Linked DNA regions of Homo sapiens: region 1 is linked to region 2. The links are contacts of gene promoters, found by promoter capture Hi-C in human tissues and cell types (Jung and others, 2019). All regions are on one chromosome and are shown on one strand. The core of a region is centred on a gene start or on the middle of the fragment in contact, and the rest is flanking DNA. Distances in the headings are between cores, read along the strand shown.

Region 1 (3,046 bases), core at 59-2,558, 1.4 Mb after region 2:
TTCTATTTAAGTTATACTTTATTTATCCAAGTATAACTTTTTAAGAATAGCAAAACTTAGCAGCAGCCAACTGCTATCTTTACTATTTTATTTTATTTTTACTATTTTTAAAGCTTTTTTTAAAAAAAGTCTACAAAATAAATGCTTAGGGCACAATGTCAAACCTTTGTCAGCAATTCTTAACCACTCTGATTTTTTCAACTTGCCTATAAGGTTAGCCTTCAGTCTTGTTTAACATCAAAATGCCAGATGAGGCCCACCCATAGGGGAGTATTCTCATGAAGGCCAATTTTTATCAGGAGGGCCTCTTACCTTCTTCTGGGCTCTGGAATCTTGCCAGCACTGACTACTGTGGTCTCTGGAATTACGTGTCAGGTAGCCAAGGGTCCTCAGAGTGGGAGGCAGTCTGGCCATTTCTGAGAATGAAAGCAGATACGGGCCAAGATATCGCAAAGCCTAGGGTCCCCTTCTTTCTTCTCTTAACTTTTTGTTATAAAAAATGTCAAACATATAAAAATAGAGAGACTTGTGTAATGAAGCCCATACTCCTATCCATCACTTAGCTGACACTAAGTCAGTTTGTAATTTTCATTTTTCCTAATCAAATGTATTTTGTATTTCTTTCCTGTTGGCTAACTGGTCATCTAACCATATTTATAAGCCCCATCCCCACTCCAGGGGGCTATTTGAGGCAAAGAAATAATATTTGCCTGTTTATCTATTGGCACTAAGAAAAGAAACCAAACTCAAGTATACACAGAATTTGAATTGTTCCCTCCCTGCAGGGTATTGCAACTTCTCTAATTAAAGCAATGAATGCAGCGGGATGCTTAAAGCCCAAGTTCCCCTTTTTAAGTATAAGGAGATCTGCACTGCTATATATAGCACTTCATCTCAAAGGTATGTCTTTTTTAATTATTTACTACTCAGAACAAATTTAACATTAATGGTAGTATAAGTGATGAATAGGATTGTTAAACTGTGTTGCCTGCTTGGTGAGAGAGAAAGAGAGAGTGTTAGTAGCAAATACAATACAGGGCAAATATTTTAAATAAAATGTCAAAGTTAAAATTCTATTTTCAAAGTAGGGACTAAGTAATACAGTCAGCTGTCAATAATCCATGCCATAAAGAAGGGTGAATAGAGGCAATTATGACCTAAAACAGAATAATCTCCAGATTTTATTTGGGATTTGGATATCTTCTCAACCATAACTGTGTAACTAACTCAACCACACATCCAGGTCTCTTTCATTTAATGACTCACTAACTAGCAGAAATTATTCACAGTTCTGTGAAATTTTCTACAGCATTTAATCCCAAAGGTTCCGAATACACAAGAAAAAAGTATAAGAAGAAGATGGAGCAGTTTATGGAGAGTTGTGAACTCATAACATACTTGGGTGCCAAGATGACCAGAAAATACAAGGAACCTCAGTTCAGAGCCATTGACTTTGATCATAAGTTAAAGACCTTTCTCTCTCTCAGAAATATAGACCCAATTAATGGGTAGTTTACTTAGGTGATAGCAGCCTGAATCTCAAGAGTTATCTGAAAGTGATAGAGGGAAACTGAGAGAAGTAGATTGAAAATCTGGGCCTCTTGGAAGTACTTTTGCCTCCTGAGCAAGGTACCATGGCTGCCAGACTTCAGGTGAACTCAAAGGTCTGCCAGCCAGGAAGGAGCACTCTTATGGAAACAAGTTTTAATACAATTTTAAAATGTATTGCTCTTTGCCTGAACTTTGATGCTTTAACAAAATAAACATTCTATTTATAATTCCATATAGAAAAGTTAAGTGACTTATTTAATAAATGTATTATTTTCCTTTTTAACATTTTCAGTAGAAAAGTCAGTCTCTGTTAAAATTACTCATTAAATGTTAGAAAGCTTTAAGACATTTAACATTGTTATAAATGAAACCAAAATATGGGTTATACATTTTACATACAAAACTGTTTGTGAACTTTGTGAACATAAGATACTATCATTTTCCCAATAAAATAAATGGATTTTGCAACAACTTACTGGCTGCCTCTTTTCTTTTTCTTAAGTATTCATTGAAGCATGCTTTATACCTTATTTTATAATTGGAAATTACCTGGAATTTTAAGAAGGATGAAATCTAGAGTCATTATATGACTCAGTATATGCTAGAAGAAAACTTACTAAATTGAATTTAATGAGATTTTTAAAATAACAATTTTCAGCAGCAATATAAAAGGATCTGGAATAGGAAACAGCAAGATTGACTCTTAAAAAATAAAAAATATGACCATTAACTGTGTAACCTTGGGTAAATTTCTCTGAGCCTTCATTTCTTAATCTCCACGATAAATGGTTTAGCTCTTTGATCCCTATAAATTCAATAATGTTAATTAAAAACTAGAAGCCTTTTTATATATCTTTTGCATTATATATTTCATAATAAAATGATTTTTAAACAAAAGCTGGAAGCCTATTGCCAAAGTTAGGATAAACCTCAAAAGCCTTTACTTTTTCAGGAGGCTGGGAGTTGCCAATAGCTACCAAGTTTTGCTGGCAACTTAAGCCCCATTTTTGCTCCCTGCCCATTTCTTAATGCCTGTAATTTACCATCTTTCTATCACCAACTGAAATCTACTGGCTTTTTCATTCTTGACAAGATATAAATGTTCTCAGGTCTCTTCAGCCTATGGGTATGATGAGTTTGCTTTAGCAGTTAAACCCAAACTTCATTGCTTCAGTGCCCCTGCCTTTACGAAGGGCAGCAGTCCCTGCAGAATACCGCTGAGTGTTTCTTGGGGTCTCCAGGGAGTGTCCCATGTGCTCCAGAGAAAGTCCACACCCACTGCACATCTCCTGGGGATGAAGTTCTCTAGTATGGCTTCGCCCTGAGAACTCTTATGAGCCCAAGGATGCTGTCTTCTGAGCTCTAACATCTCATGCATCATTGTTCTGGAGCTGCTGAATTCTGCACAAAACTAGGGCAAATGCCCTTTATCTTCTTAGTAGGAAGAAGCTCAGTCCCTGAGCTGAGTCAGCAACCAAAAGCCATGTGATTCTCC
Region 2 (2,956 bases), core at 246-2,745:
GGGCCTAGGAAGGCCATTGGTGGCCACCGGTGCGACCGCCGCCAGGAACAAGGCCTAAGCATCCACGGGATCTCTGGGCTTTTATATAAGCATGGATTTCCACAGCAATACCAACTAAAACGCCTCTTCGGCGCGGTCAGCCCAAGTATCTCTCGCGTGACGGCCCGCAGTGGGAGTGGGCCCCAGATTCCTTTGCTCAAGCTTAAGGCATTAGAGGCATTATGTCCTGGGGCAGGCGGGCCTCCCTCCACCCGCACCTCTCCCGCCCCGCTCCGCCGGCTCCGTAGCAGGTTACACAACCCAAGGTCAAGAGATTGGGGAGCAGCCCCCAGCGGCCTCAGCGGCCGTGTCGAGGGCGGCCCCGGGGACTGCGCCGTCTGCCCAGCCGCCCCGAAAAGGCTCTGGCGCAGAGCATGTTAGGGGAGCGGTGGGGCCCCGCCACTGCGACATAACTGCTCCCGCCCAATCCCCGCCGCCCGAACGCCACATGCTGCCCGCGGCCGCCGCGGGTGGGAGGCCTCTTCGCCAGCCCCTCAGACAAGGCCGGGAGGGCCCCTCCTATCCGCGCCCGAGGCAAGAACAAGCGCCGCTCCCGCCCTCCATTCCCCGAAGCCGGCACGCCCGAATTAGCGCCTGACTAAGCCCGCCGAGCCACACCTGCCGGAGGCAACCCGCGCAGGCGCCCCCGACCCCCACCTGGGGCCCCTGCCGCCAACTACTACGGAGGGAAATGTCGGGAGGCGCGGGCCGCAAAACCACCCCGGGCCGCGCCGCCCGCCGCCCAGCGCGGGACGTTACCTGAGCACGCGGCCGCGCCGGCCTCCTCCCCTCCCCCAGGGCAATGCCAGGCGCGGCAACCACGGCGGGAGAAGCCGGCTCCGGCCCGCGTGGACATGGCCGCTCTCCCCCAAACCGCGCACCTTCCAAGGCCGCCGAAGCGACCCCAGGCCGCAGACTTGCCCCCAACTGAAAGCTGAGGGAACTCGGGCTCCACCCGTGGCTGGTGCCTCGGCGGCGGCGACAGCCCCCAGGCCCGGATGTCAGCGAGCGCCCCGGGGACCCACCTTGGGATAGTGCGAAGATCCCCAGATCCTTGGTTTGCGTCGGGCTGCTGCCGGGAGAACCAAACCTCCAGCAGCTTCTCGGTCCCTTCGAAAAAATGTGCAGCTTCCATCACCGTGAGACTAGCGAACAACCAACAACCACAGAAAATCAACTAAATTAAACCTCTTCTCCCGCCGCTGCCGCCGCCGCTGCGGATTGTTCCAGCTGTGTTACTAAAGTTCAGGTTCCTTTTTTTTTTTGCTATAATTTTATATTAACTTTTTTTAAAAAAAGGACTAATAAAATTTTCCCGGCTTTGTGTGAGCGAAAGTTGAACGTGAGTCTTTTGGAAATAGAGGCAGATACAGTTCAGTCTCTTGTATTCCGCTGCTTTCCCGTTAGAGAGAGTAGAGCGAGCGCTAGCTAATGTCGCCGGCCATACTGTGTAAGCGAGAGCGCTGCGTGAGCACCGCCCTTATATATCCCGGCTCCCCCCAAAAGACCAGGAAGTGACGCATCGTCCCACCTCCACGGCCTATAGCTGCTGCCGCCTGTCAATCACTCGCGGCCGAGTGGCGGCTGGCTGGCCGAGGGCCTGGCGGAGAGCGCGGGGAGCTGCCCACTGCGCTGCGGCTCGGGCTCTGGCCGGCTCCTGAGTGGGAGTTGGTGCTGTGATGTCCAGCTGGGGACTAGAAACCTCGGATCGAACGCAGAGTGGGTGGGGAGAGCGGGAACGGAATGAGGAAAGGCTGTGCAGAGCTGTTTAGAAAAAAAAAATGATTAGCAGAAAACATGGGTGGGTCCTTAGGGGTGTTGGCGGGGTTCAGCGGGGACGGTGGCCAGCGCTGGGTTGGCGTGGTGGTTTTGATCTTGTGCAGTTCACCGCGACTGCTGAGGTACTTGGCCATTCTTAAAAGTGTGTTTTCCCAAGGCGAACGCAGCCAGGCGTTAAAACTAAACATTTGTCCGTGACGCGCACGTTGCCAGGGGTCGAATTAGAAGGCGCTTTAATTCTGCTCACGCCTTGGCTGATGTGCGAATGAAAGCAGTCCTCGGCTGGTTTATACAATAGCCAGAAGCATTGTCTTCCTATTTCAGAAGAGAAAAGCAACGTGGCGCCCAGCCTTGGAGGGCCCCGGCTTTACCCACCTCCCACCGTGTGGCTCGCCATGCCTCCGAATTGGCTGAGCACAGCAGCCTCCGGGAAGCACTGGCAGCTCCGTTGCTCCATTAGCTCAACTGGTGGGAATTTATTCAGCAAAACTACTTCTAGAAACTGAATGTGTTAAATATAATCTGAACTTATTTGATCATGTTTTTCTTTGAATTTTATCAAGCTGATGTATTAATTGATGGAGGTTCTCCTTACCCCCCAAAATTTACAGTGCTATCTTCCCATGTGCTTAAGAAGGATTTACCTGGAAATTAATAAAACAGGGATTCCAGAGCTATCACTGGTGGTAACTTAAATAACTATCAGTCTAATATTTTATAAGTGTTAAGTATAAAATAGTCGTCAAGCCATGGTCAAACAGTTTAACCTCAGATGGCAAAACTGGTAACAAAGTTATTACTTTTACTTGGGAATATGGGAGGAAAAAAACCCAAGCTGACATAAAAATTGCTATTGTCACAAGACAAAAGGACTTTTCGCTATCATCCTTAGAAAAAAACTTTCCCCAAAGTGAAATAAGATGATGTCAACATGAAAAATCCACTGAAAAAGACATGGTTTGGGTTTGCACTCTAGATACCCTGTAGAATAGCTCTTGTCTTACAAGAACGTGGTTCACGTGTCTCCGTGAAACCTGTTGAAAGAAGCTATGTTGTGAGCTAGGTACATAAACTACTCTTGCTTTGTTTTGTTTGTCTGAGACGGAGTCTCGCTCTGTTGCCCAGGCTGGAGTTCAGT

What was found. The method cuts DNA at HindIII sites, captures the fragments that hold promoters and counts their contacts. A contact is called where the count stands out against the background at its distance.
Region 1: a fragment that was not itself captured here is called in contact with the fragment with the promoter of AMD1 in region 2 in 1 of the 25 tissues and cell types used here (dorsolateral prefrontal cortex).

The regions. Positions count from the first base shown.
Region 1 is chr6:109,491,835-109,494,880 of GRCh38, reverse strand. It overlaps AK9 (adenylate kinase 9), which reads left to right. Exons shown (of 41, transcript NM_001145128.3): 40 at 786-900; 41 at 1,310-2,026. The coding sequence ends at 1,512. ZBTB24-DT (ZBTB24 divergent transcript) reads right to left here. Exons shown (of 4, transcript NR_187591.1): 3 at 313-416. Among named protein-coding and RNA genes, the nearest start is that of ZBTB24-DT, 9.7 kb to the right of the region's middle. The HindIII fragment of the contact is 3,021 bases long and covers 1-2,818 here.
Region 2 is chr6:110,873,324-110,876,279 of GRCh38, reverse strand. AMD1 (adenosylmethionine decarboxylase 1) reads right to left here and starts at 1,495. Exons shown (of 9, transcript NM_001634.6): 1 at 1,065-1,495. The coding sequence starts at 1,174. RefSeq lists enhancers at 1-357, 358-1,073 and silencers at 321-510, 541-610, 671-920. The HindIII fragment of the contact is 7,288 bases long and covers 1-2,956 here.